Linked DNA regions of Homo sapiens: region 1 is linked to region 2. Evidence: promoter capture Hi-C in 16 types of primary human blood cells and fetal thymus (Javierre and others, 2016). All regions are on one chromosome and are shown on one strand. The core of a region is centred on a gene start or on the middle of the fragment in contact, and the rest is flanking DNA. Distances in the headings are between cores, read along the strand shown.

The links. Contacts are between HindIII fragments. The CHiCAGO score rates a contact against its expected background, and 5 or more counts as called.
Region 1: a contact is called between a fragment that was not itself captured here and the fragment with the promoter of NSUN6 in region 2, in 4 of 17 cell types (naive CD8 T cells, total CD4 T cells, activated CD4 T cells and 1 more). The highest score is 8.8, in naive CD8 T cells.

The regions. Positions count from the first base shown.
Region 1 is chr10:24,725,830-24,732,749 of GRCh38, forward strand. No RefSeq gene overlaps it. Among named protein-coding and RNA genes, the nearest start is that of ARHGAP21, 5.4 kb to the left of the region's middle. The HindIII fragment of the contact is 2,380 bases long and covers 181-2,560 here.
Region 2 is chr10:18,647,052-18,653,763 of GRCh38, forward strand. NSUN6 (NOP2/Sun RNA methyltransferase 6) reads right to left here and starts at 4,536. Exons shown (of 11, transcript NM_182543.5): 1 at 4,078-4,536; 2 at 1,439-1,594. The coding sequence starts at 4,152. RefSeq lists an enhancer at 4,676-4,775. The HindIII fragment of the contact is 3,002 bases long and covers 3,914-6,712 here.

The DNA of each region.
Region 1 (6,920 bases), core at 121-2,620, 6.1 Mb after region 2:
AATTATGGAAAAATAACATAACCTAGAGAGGCAATATTTCTATAAGAGGTAATAAGATGTAAGGATCAAGATTACAATCCAACTCCATCATTTACCACGTAACTTAGGGAAAATTATGACTTATGTGTCTAAGTACTAGAGCTATCAAATTCAATACCTCCTGCTAGGTACTCCTCTAAAAGCTTTACACACAACATATTGAGATAGGTGGGTGGTGAAGCAAGGATTCAAGCCCAGGGGATCTGGCTCCAGAGTCCATTCTTTTATTCACAACACTATACTAGGCTGGGCCCAGTGGCTTATGCCTGTAATCCCAGCACTTTGGGAGGCTGAGGTGGGAGGATCGCTTGAGTCCAGGAGTTTGAGACCAGCGTGGACAACATAGGGAGACCCGTCTGTACAAACAAAAAGTTAGCTGGGCGTGGTGGCATGTGCCTGTAGTCCCAGCTACAAAGGAGGCTGTGAGGCAGGAGGATCGCTTGAGCCCAGCAGTTCAAGGCTGCAGTGAGCCCTGTCCAAGTGTGGCACTCTAGCTAGGGCAACAGAGCCAGACTGTGTCTCAAAAAATAATAAATAAATAAATAAATAAATAAATCACTGTACTACCTCTTAATATGGGTTTTTAATAATAACAGCTAACACTTAACTTACTATGTGTGAATTATTGTGGTCTTTGAGTGCCAATTTAACTCTACTCCTGGGACAAATATAATTGTGATGTTCTAAAATTTGGGAATGTTTTTAAGAACTGTTATGATAAGTTACTATCTTAGGTATCTTAAGTGTATTAGGCTATCTGTACGGAGAAGTGCAAAGGCACACAGCTAAGATTTGAAAAACCTGTGTCCTGGGCTTCTACAGGACCTCTGAGTTGTAACAGCATCCTCCCTGTCTTGCTGGACTGTTAAAGAGAATCAAATGAGATAATAGATGTGAAGAAATTTTAAGGCCAGGTGCGGTGGCTTATGCCTGTAATCTCAGCACTTTGGCAGGCCCAGGCAGGAGGACCACTTGAGCCCATGAGTTCAACAAGCCTGGGCAACATAACGGGGCCCTATATCTATAAAAAAATTTTTTTTTAATTAGCCAGGTGTGGTGGCCAATGCCTGTGGTCCCAGCTACTTGGAAAGCTAAGGTGTGAGGATCGCTTGAGCCCAGGAGGTCAAAGCTGCAGTGAGTCTTGATCACACCAGCGCACTCCAGCCTGGGCAACAGAAGACACTTTTAAAACGTAAAAAACATTATTTCAATCAAAATATTATGGGCTGGGCATGATGGCTCATGTCTGTAATCCCAGCACTTTGGGAGGCCAAGGCGGGCGGATCACTTAAGGCCGGGAGTTCAAGACTAACCTGGGCAACATGGTGAAACCCCTTCTCTACTGAAAATACAAAAATTAGCCTGGCGTGGTGGCACGTGCCTGTAATCCCAGCTGCTTGAGAGGCTGAGGCATGAGAATCCCTTGAGCCCGGGAGGAAGAGGTTGGAGTGAGCCGAGATTGCGCCACTGCACTCCAGCCTGGGTGACAGAGCGAGACTCCATCTCAAAAAATAAAATATTACTATAAAGCAGAAGTTTGTACTATTTCCCCAACAGGAACCCTACTGTTTATAACATTTTATTGATACTGTTTAGGAATATATGAACCCAGTTAAAAATTAGGTCTATTCCTTTCTGAAGCCATGAACAAGAATATTTTAATATCAGCTCTCATTTGGATGCTTTTTTGTGTTTGTTTGTTTTGTTCGTTTTTGTTTTTGAGATGAGGTCCACTCTGTCACCAGGCTGGAGTGCAATGGCACAGTCTCGGCTGACTGCAACCTCTGCCTCCTGGGCTCAAGGGATTCTGGTGTCTCAGCTTCCTGAGTAGCTGGAACTACAGGCACATGCCACCACACCCGGGTAATTTTTCTTTCTTCCCCGCCCCCACCCCGTAGAGACAGGGTTTCACCACGTTACCCAGACTGGTCTTGAACAAATGATGCCTCAGCCTCCCAAAGTTCAGGGTTTACAGGCGTGAGCCACCGCGCTTGGTCATCATTTGGATGCCTTCTGACCAGACCAAAAAGTGAGTGTGGCCCCCCACGCATCTGGAAAGAGGAAGCCTGCAGCTGGTTTTTCTCCATTCCAAAGGCTAATTGGCGTAATTGGTGGAGGGTGCAAGCCCTTGGAATTCTCTTTAGCTGCCCATCGTGGACATCTCACTTGTAAACACCTCCACCAGAGGGAGGGCAAGGGAAAGGAAAGGGGGCCAAACTTCAGTCACGCGGCTACGTGTTAGTTTCAGTGAGAGATTTGGTGAAACAATAGGTTTTGGGGCCATTGTAACTGAAAGGAGATTGAAACTAACTGGTTGCTATCTTGATAGTTTTCTTTATCCTCAAATATCATGGATAAGCAAGAGCTAACAGTAATTCTAGCTTTGTTTGCTTTGAAAGGCTATTTTCCTCCTTAGAGTATAGCTAATAAATGTGTGGGTTTCCTATAATCAAACTTCTTGGAGTATCCTTTGAAATAGCCTCTGAAATTACTATAGCTATATTAATAAAAACTACAAGAAAGCTTTATACACTAAATCTAGGCAAGACATTTATGAAGATGAGAACTGTATCCTTAAAAGGTAAGTGTTGGCTTTGCTAATGACATAATATTGTTTTGGTGAACCAATATCAAGGGAAAAAATGTCAAAGCCAAAAATAGAGGCAAAGTATCCCAGCCCCTGGTGTGGAAGGCCATTCTATGATAATCTATGAATGATTTCTACTCTGAATATGTTAACAGAAGCTGGCACATCTGAGAAGCACAAGTGTTTGCTAGTGAATCCACAAATGAAATTTGCAATTTGGGTTGAAGCCTTTGCAAAACTACGTTAAGACCAATAGCCCTCAGAAGAGTAAGGGGTTTTGTTTTGTTTATTTCTTATTCACACATTACCAAAAAGACACATTACATGCTAATATTACTTTGAAAGAGCAAAAGACTTTTTTTTTTTTTTTGAGACGGAGTCTCACTTTGTCATCCAGGCTGGAGTGCAGTGGTGTGATCTTGGCTCACTGCAACCTCTGCCTCCTGGGTTCAAGGGATTCTCGTGCCTTAGCCTCCCCAGTAGCTGGGACGACAGGCATGCACCACCACACCCAGCTAATTTTTGTATTTTTTAGTAGAGACAGAATTTTACCATGTTGGCCAGGCTGGTCTCGAACTCCTGACCTCAGGTGATCCACCCACCCCGCCCTCCCAAAGTGCTGGGATTACAGGCGTGAGCCACCATGCCTGGACAAAAAAAGCAAAAGATTTTCATGTTGAACTGAATAGCTACAGAAATCCCACCACACTTGCAAGGCATTTAACTATTGTAATTGAGAGAAGGGAATGATTCTCCACAATCAGCAATTTCTAGGACTCTTCCTTCATCTCTTTTAAACAAATAATGTAAATGATTTACTAATTTATTGTTCTGCATTTGCTAAATATGTATCTTATTATTTCTCTCCACATGATTACTATCTTTGATGATTAATTTCTAGAAGGCAATGACATTATTTAATTCATTATATACAATGCCTAGTAAAGTGCCACACACAATAAATATTCTTGAATAATTTATCTGCCCTCAGTTTATTGTCATCTTTTCCTCCTCTGGACTAGAATACTGGTGTTTATTTTTGGGTTTGTTTGTTTGTTTGTTTGTTGCTGTTACTTGATTATAAACAATCTTCTTTTGTTACACGGATATATTGTGGGAAAAAAATAATAAATCTTATTTAGCTAAATATTATCTCCTTTTTTAATCTGGATTATAAACTTCTCTAGAGGAGATTCCTGGAGCTTTTACTACTTTCACATCCCCACAATATCTACCACATCTTTTACACATAGAAATTACTACAGAATTATTCAAGAAATAAAAGATGGTTATGTCACTATTATTGATAAATATTTATACCTCAAGAAATTCCTGGCTGTACAGGTCCAATAACAGTACAGGTCACAGGAAGATATATGTATAGGCCTATGTGAATATGCCTAAAACAAAGAGTGTAAATTATAAGAGGTATCCACAAAGAGAACACTTGGTATGGGCCTCAACTTTCGGAAATGCCACATTTTATCTCCTTATCGAAACTTCTCTGGCCAGGCGCTGTGGCTCACACCTGTAATCCCAGTACTTTGGGAGGCCCGAGTGGGTGGATCACTTGAGGTCAGACATTCGAGACCAGCCTGGACAACATGGTAAAACCCCATCTCTACTAAAACTACAAAAATTAGCTGGGCATGGTGGCACGGTCCTGTAATCCCAGCTTACTCAGGAGGCTGAGACAGGAGAATTGCTTGAACCTGGGAGGCAGGGCCAAGCCTGGTTGACAGAGTGACACTCCATCTCAAATAAATAAATAAATAAACTTCACTGCCAGCGATTTAGCTGTTTTTCAGCCATAAGACCATCCTAAAAATTAATATCACTTACATTTTGGTAGAAACTATAAAATTTCACCCCAAAGCTTATCCATAATCATATATCAAAAGTTTTCTTTAGATCCAAATTATTATTCAGCATTAGAATTTCCATAATTAAAATTTAGTGGTATGCTAGTCATAGTCATCAACATTGTTAAGTTTATTTATATGTTTTAAGAAAAAATATGAATAAAAAATCCATGTGCAAGTTTTTATTTTATCCTAAGAATCGTGACTTTCATTTATAAGTATTCCAACTTTCCTTAAAAATATGAGACTAGTTTTTAAAATGTTTCCACCCACCCAACTAAATATGAGTTGGAACATTGTGAAAATACAGTGCAATCTGGAGAAACCCATATTACAACTGGAGAATTGAAATATGTTTTTATCATTTTGGAATAGAATGCTAAATTCCAAACATTTTAACTAGGAAACTGTGCTAGCAGTTGATTTTTAATATCATAGGCCTAATCCAAAGTAATCAAATCTTTTCATCAAAAAAAATAAAAAGTTCTAGCCTTCCCTTTCATTGTCATTGAGCAGAATCAGGAAAGACACCTAAAGACTTCTCTATTCCTTGATTCAAGAAACTCTGAGTATCTTTCAATATTGTCTAGCACTGTAGATTCCATTCCTCTATCCCTATAATTGCTTGCATTCCTTATTAATCCAAAAGTCAACTAACCAAGGCTTCTTCCCTCAGATAGGAAAAGATCGCAGGGCAATATGTGGTAATTCACATCTGGGCTTAAGTAGGATAGATGGCAGGCTTACATAACCTTTCTCCTCAAAGATTTTTTCAATTATATTTTAATTTTTAAAAATTACGAAGTAAAAAAGAAAAAAACAAACACTAAAACTATGAAGGGGCCCAATCTCATACCACATTTTACGAACCCATTCTCATGCCTCCTTCCAGCTTTCTTCTGTGGCTCCTCATTGCTTGAATCCAACAAGAAGCCTGGGGTCCTCAAAGATAATTCATCCACCCTGTTTCTTTCAATATAAATAGAAATTTTAGATAGTAAATATTCATCAAAGATGAATGAAAAGGAAATAAGACTGACATAAACATTTTAAATTGTGATATTGGGGAAGAGATGAAATAAAGGAATATATTCTAAAAAGAAAAGATATATTATGGAAGAAGATTAACCCCAGTAAGCAGAAGAAATATAGAGACAAATGTTTCATACCCCGAAGAAAATAAAATATATCAAAAGTGAAATCACAAGAGAATGAATGAAATATAAAAGATGTTAGAATGGCTAAGAGAAGGTATTGAGAGGGAAAAATCATACCGTTGCAGAAATAATACATGAATTAGAAATAAGAAGAAATAAGAAATGTCTGGCCGGGCACAGTGGCTCATGCCTGTAATCCTAGCACAGAGGCCAAGGTGGGAGGATCACTTGAGCCTGGGAATTCAAGACCAGCCTGGGCAACACAGTGAGACCTCATCTCTATTTTTAAAAAATAAAAATAAGAAATATCTAGCAGAAAATTGTGGGATGGATGACAGATTTGTTTTAAAGCACATCAAATACAAAGGAAAAGGACAAAGATTAAAGTGATTAGACAGGAGATGAAAAATATAGAAGACAACAGAAATCTGATTTAGAGAAATTGATGTCTCTGACAGAATTTACAACTAATGAAACTAAAAAAAATTTTTTTCAAAGATATACTATGGTAGCCTGCTAAATGTTCCCCCAAATCTGTTCTCTCCTTCTCCTATAATAGTAGTATTTTAGTTAGGCACCTGGTTAACAAGCTAGACTTTCTATCTAGGTGTGTCTAGGTGTGGCCATGACTAAATTCTAGGCAATGAAATGTGGGCAGGAATGATTGTGTGTCACTCTGGAAGTCTTCCCTTAAAAGGCTTAGATCTGTGCCTTCCTAGACCCTTCCCCGATTCACAGTGACTGGAGGTAGGGTTGCCAAGTTTAGCAAATAAAAACAATGAGCACACAGTTCAATTTGAACATCAGATAAACAACAGATAACTTTTTAGTATAAAAAAGCCTCATTCAAATTGGTGTTTGAAACCAAAAAAAAAAAAAAGAAAAGAAAAATGTTGCAGGCAATAAACAAATCAGATTTTAGTGTGTGTCTCATTAAAAAAAAAACTGTTGGGCATAGTGGCTCACACCTGTAATCCAACACTTTGGGAGGCCGAGGCATAAGGATTTTTTGAGCCCAGGAATTCAAGACCAGCCTGGTCAACATAATTAGACCTATCTCTACAAAAACATTTAAAAATTACCTGGGTGTTGTAGCTAATTTTTAGCCCAAGCTATTCTTGAACTCCCAGCCTCAAGCAAGCTTCACACCTTAGTCTCCCAAAGTTCTGGGATTACAGGCATGAGCCACTGCACCCAGCCTTTCAGCTGCTTTTAAATGTGAATGACCACATGATTCAATCTTTAAGTCACATTATTTGTTTTCTTCAAAATTTT
Region 2 (6,712 bases), core at 3,286-5,785:
TATACTAAGGTTTGGTCTCATACACTGAGATGCCATAGCTGGTTCTTCTAATAACATGGTTGTCTATTCACAACTTGGTACTTATAGTTGTTCTTAAATAGAGTATGACAAAGAGTCCATAAATGTAATAGAGAGATTTTTTAAAAGGGGATAAGTGACTCAGTGATAATTTTCTGAAATTTTCTAAATAACTAAATACAGCTTGTGATTGACAAATGGAAACCCTTTAATCATGGTTGCCTCTCGCTTTTAACTCAGACACAAATAAGGCAGAAATGAGTCTGCTGACACCCACGTTACATGTTACCAGTCAGTGAATAACTACAGTATACAATTTATGTGGTACCTCTCAGCATCTATTCTTCTACATCCTACATTGCTTTTGAGGTAAATTTCAGTGTACAGTGTATGAAACACCTAAGGCAAAGCTTTCAAAAGCAAAAGAGTATATACAAGATAACTCAAAAAAATATAAACAAGATAACTCATACTTTCTGCTTAGAAGTCATAAATGCCATTTTATAATATTGTTTTCATCTGTAAGAGGAATATTTTGCCAAAACTATTTTATTGGTTGGGTAAAAAAAGTCTCATGCTGTTTTACATTGAAAATAGATTCAGATTCATCATCTTAATTTCCTGGTTTTATAAAACATAAGGCGCTCAACACCTTGTTTTTTTTTTTTTTTTTTTTTTTTTTTGAGACAGAGTCTCATTCCATCGCCCAGGCTGGAGTGCAGTCATGCAATTTCGGCTCACTGCAACCTCCACCTCCCGGGTTCAAGGGATTACTCGTGCCTCAGCCTCCCAAGTAGCTGAGATCACAGGCATGTGCCATCATGCCCGAATAATTTTTTTATATGTTTTAGTAGAGACAGGGTTTCGCCATACTGGCCAGGCTGGTCCCAAAGTCCTGGCCTCATGTGATCCACCTGCTTCAGCCTCCCAAAATGCTGCGATTACAGGCATGAGCCACCACGCCTGGCCCAACATCTATTTTTTTATGTCAATTAACAATATAATCTCACAGGTACTTAGTATGTACCTCCTTACCCCTGGGCTTATTATCTCAGCTATACCATCTGTCCTCCTGGTCATTATATGCTACTTATCACAAAGCCACAGGTTTTTAAGGTTAGACTGGACTTCTTCACATGTATTTTAATGATGAAGCTACTAAGGCCCAGTTTAATGCGGCCCAGAGGGGTTTAATGAGCTATTTTAGTCACCAAAAATGAATAAATTTAGAATCAGAAGTACTAGGTTCAAGTTCTAGCATTACCACCTAGGATAACTTTGAAGAATTTACCATTCATGGTCCTCAATCTCCTTATCTGTAAAACTGGAAGTGTATTATATCATTCATAGGATTTTAATGGAAAACATGGTAGATTGCAAAAATGTAATTATGTACAAATGACAGAAAATTTCCACAAACCTTCTGAAGTTCATCAAGTAACAGATTTTTCACATGTTGTACTGAGGCTAAATGTGTATTCACTCTGACAGTTGTAAATGATGGAGGATGTGACAGGTGCTTTAACAAAGTTTCAAACTTCCTTTCTGCTTCTTGTTTACCTAAAGCAGTCACAATCTAAAAAGAAGTTCATGTTTAAATTTCCTGAGAATTAAAAACAGTCAGCAGAGCATCCTTATATATTAATTCCATCTAATGAAACATCGCTTAGCAATTGTTCAGCTCCATTCTATTTTGCTGTATTGTTTATATGTTAATAGCAACTAAGGAAATAGTAATACTTCACGGGGTTCTTGGGCTTCAACATGGTAATAAACACCTAAGAAAATGCCTGAAATAAAGGGCTTAGAAAAACATTGCCTAAACTTCAAAGCATTATGAACATTTTCCAAATATTAGTATCTGCTACATTTATTCACATAAATTCAGGAATTCAGTCTATTTATAATGCATTACCATTACAGCATCTCTGTAGAGCTAGCATTATATCCAAGTTAGTTGGACGTTAGCTAATTAGCTAACATCATATCCAAGAGCAAACTGGCTGGTATCCTTTTAAAATACCAATATTTAAAAAATAAGTAATATTGATATAGTCACTGTCATATAAAGATTCCCCTAGGACATCAGCTTTTTAATATGGTGTTATTAAATGTAACAAATATATATTATCCAAAAAAGATGAGTAGCAAAGACACCTGTCAAATATGACGGTATAAAGACTCAACAATATTCCCTTGTAATTAACCGAAGCTTTTCAAGAAACGTATTTCTTTGTCTTCCTATTTGACTAAACCCTGCTTTACAGAATCTTCACAAACCACTTGTTAGCCTACTCATGCACCAGCCTTAAAAGTATTCATACTTTCTCAAGGTTTAGTCTTATCAAAACTGAACATTCAGCCTGGGCAACATGGTGAAACCCCATCACTACAAACAATACAAATATTATTAGCCAGAGTGGTGGCCCCTGTCTGAGGTCCCAGCTACTCGGGAGGCTGAGGTGAGAGGATCACTTGAGTCCCAGAGGTCGAAGCAGCAGTGAGCTGTGATCATGTCACTGCACTCCAACATGGGCAACAGAGGGAGACCCTGTCTCAAAAAAAAAAAAAAAAGGCATAAAACTTAATATTCCTTTCCCTTCAGTACTTTTCACAAAGGCATAGCTTTTCATTTTGTAAAACCATACCACTGATGAGACTCGAGGCAGAGGCAGTGTCAAAGAAAGACGTTTGGATCTTCTTTATAAAACGACGTTCTCCATTTTAAAATCTGCTGAAAAAATTGTGGTATGCCCCTACTTCTCCTAATATGTGCCTTATATTTTAAGTCCCTTGAAATCAACAGAATATATTTTCTCTTTCCATACAGTCTAGTACCTCAAGCTAATCTTTGGAAATGAAACGTAGAAATCAAATCTAAAAGGCATGGCTTCAATAACATATTCAAAAATGAGTAACATTTAAGTGGTGTTACTCTAACTAAGAAAACTAAAGATTTCAAAAAAAACAAAGTTGCTTAGAGGCAACATGGTAAAGTGGTAGAGAGGACAGGCTTTGCAATAAAAGACAATCAACATTTACTGAGGACTTCTGTGGCAGGCACTGCCAATTGCAAACAAAATTAACATTTTTTGAAGACTTACATGCCAAAACAATGCAAGTTGTTTTCATTTACGTTTAATATCCTAAAACAACCTGGTAAAATATTTTTAACTTGACTAAAAAATTAAAGATTTGAAAAAAAACAAAGTTGCTTAGAGGCAGCATGGTAAAATGGAATAGACAACAGGCTTTGCAATCAAAGATAATCAACATTTACTGAGGACTTTAGCAAATAAAATTAACATTTTTTGAGGACTTACATGCCAAAACAATGCTAGTTGTATTCACTTACGTTTAATATCCTAAAACAACCTGGCAAGATATTTTTAACCATTCTCAATTTTTCACAGAAGAGAAAAATCTAGGTTAAGCCACGTAATTTACAAAGCACTAGAATGCAAATCATGTGCCTGAGATTCAAAAGCTGTACCTTTGTTCATTACACCTGAACTCTTTCCCTCCAGATTTCAATAGTTACTTGATAGCTGTGTCAACTTGGATCAGTTACACAATTCCTTGAGCAGTTTTCTGCTCAAGTCTATTAAAAGAGGAAAAACCTCTAAGAAAAAAAAGATTGTGAAGATTAAAGATGCAAATCTCCTAGCACAACTGCTGGCATTTAAGAGGCACTCAACAAATTACAGAAACCTTTTCACCTGAGTGCCAGAGCCAGCGCTCTTTTAAAATTCGATTCGAGTTCTTGAAGACAGGGACCTTTTCTTGTTCATCCTTGTAACCCTTTGTGCCATGCCTGACAGGCACATGCCTTTTTTCCCTTCTTTTCCACTCCTAAATGTTAAAACATATACCTTATTCACTTCGTATCTCAGTAAGCTTTAATACCTGTAGAAACATATTGGTATTTTTACACTTGATAGACAAGTAGTAAGGAACGACGGCTGTCAAGATTTCCCTTTATACTTATTTCTATTTCTCTCGAGTGTGCGAATATTTGAGTTTTTGCAAAATATCAACTAACATCTTTACTTGACCTACCTCCTTATTCATAAAGCCTTCCTTAAGATAGTTTTCAACCTCAGGTCTCAAAGATATCTTAGGGAAAATAGACATTTTTCCTGTTGTTTAGTTCTCCACCAAGAGAAATGCTGGAAAACGGTGTTTTGTTTTTTTTTTTCTTTCCGAATTAATAGTGACGAGTGTCTTGACACCAGATGCTGAGGAAAATCTTGCCGATCACGCTGAGTTAATTTCGGAAATGCAGAGGTACACGCTTTCTCAAGCCTAGCCGATTAGAAGGGGCTGCCGGGCTTCCACCACACCTCATCGAGGCAATGTTTTCTGGTAGAGATGCTCATGGAAATCACTGAGCCAATGCCACTCACGTTGCAAAGAACCAAAAAAAGAAAAAAATGCTTAGTAACTGAATCCGTGGTGAAACGGACGCAGATCAGTAAGCCAGGCTGACAGCAGCTCGGTCCCTTTATCTTTTCTATCAATTTCCAAACACGCGCCCCCTATTTCTCGGCGGAAAGTCGCTTCCGGCTTACGTCACGTCCGGCGCCTGCGGCCCACCCCTCCCTTTCCGGTCCCCCAATCCACAGCCGCAAGTTTCCCCAACACTGCGTTACGCTACGCCACGCCCCCGGAGGTTCCTAACCCTGCGTGAGGCTCTTTCACCTGCCTCAGGTTAAGTAGGCAGACCCCGCGGGCGGGATGGTCAAAGATATTTAGTTCCCGGTACCGGAGGGCTAGGTGCCAGGGGCAATGGGGAAACAGCCAAATGGCGTGGGTTGAGTGGAAGATGTTGCTGGACTGAAAAAAGGCACAGCCCAGTTGCTGTCCTGCCAGATGTCCTCCAGTTAGAGGATGAGGCCAGAATTTGGGCGCATCAGCCACCGTTTGATTTCATGACATGATTTTACCTCTCTCAGGCATACAGATCTGACTTCAGTTGTGAAGTTCATAGGGTTCATATTTTTGAAAGTTGGGCTAATGGTCTGTTAATATCCAATGCTCAGGTAAAACTTAAAACCCACAGACAGTGTTTACAGTTAGTTATAAGGCTAACTGCTACTTGTATCATAGTTGACATATTCTTTAGAGTTTGGAAGACCCTCGCCATTATTTTTTTTTCTTTTTTTTCATCATAAGCAGACAAGGATATAGATTCAAAGAACGAGGATATCTAACCAAACTCACTGAGTCATTTTATAACTGTACAGGAAAGTCAAAATAATTCTATCACCTTGACATATGTTTTTTGCAGCACACCATGGTAATTTACACATAAGTATAGGAAAGGGTTTTTTATTGTTTTTTTCTCTTTAATTTTCACACCGAATTATACACACAGACACACACACATAGAACAGGTACTTTCCATGACACACCAACTCTTTACCAGAAAGAGTAGAAAATAATGAATGACCATTATACCACACAACAACCTGCAAGTTGTTTATCATTTTCTCTGCTCTTTTTTTTTTTTTTTTTTTGAGTCTCTGTCGCCCAGACTGGAGTGGAATGGTGGGATCTCGACTCACTGCAACCTCCACCTCCTGGTTCAAGAGATTCTCCTGCCTTGGCCTCCCGAGTAGCTAAAATTACAGGCATGTGCCACCAGGCCCAGCTAATCTTTGTAATTTTAATAGAGACGGGGTTTCACCATGCTGGCCAGGCTGGTCTCAAACTCCTGACTTCAACTGATCTGACTCTCTAGCCTCCCAAAGTGCTGGGATTACAGGCGTGAGCCACCACGCCCAGCCCATTTTCTCTGTTTTAAAGAGTAAATCAAGGTTCCTAGGGTTGAAACAACTCTCCATGTTCTCACAAATAAAAAGCCAGGATAAAGACTAGTAATTTGGCTTCTAGAGCCAATACCTTGTCCTTGACCATAGCATATTTCTTCAATAAATCCATGAGATTCTTTCATGGCTAAAACATCTGAAAGTGATAAATGTCTAAATCAGACATTTCCAAAGGAATTTCTGTAGCCTGAATTTCATGGTGACCATAGCACCACTGATGGCTAGAATCTGTATTTTAGCGATAAAGGAGGAGAAACAAGTTGAACTACATTTTAAACTCCACAAGGATAGAGACTTTATCACACCACTATGTACCCAAGCCTAATCCATAATGGGCACTCAAATACTTACTGAATGACTAAATGAAAAGATGGATGAACATCTCTATAAACTATGGAAAGAAAATGCTGATAAAGCATTTGCCAGAAATTACTTCACTAGTGCCACACACGGACAGAATTGAGGACATTTAGACTTTTTTGTTTGTTTGAGATGGAGTCTCATTCTGTCGCTCAGGCTGGAGTGCAGTGGTGCTATCTCAGCTCACTGCAACCTCTGCCTCCCAGGTTCAAGTGATTCTCCTGCCTCAGCCTCCCCAGTAGCTGGGATCATAGGTGCCCACCACCACGCCCGGCTAATTTTTGTATTTTTAGTAGAGATGGGGTTTCACCATGTTGCTCAGGCTGGTCTCGAACTCCTCAGCTCAAAGTGATCCACCCACTTCAGCCTCCCAAAGTGCTGGGATTACAGGCGTGAGCCACCACACCCAGCCATTTAGACTATTCTTGACTAGATGTTATAGTAATGACAGTTAATGTTGACGAAGATATCTCTTGGGATTCTAAGGCTGGATCCAAGAAAAG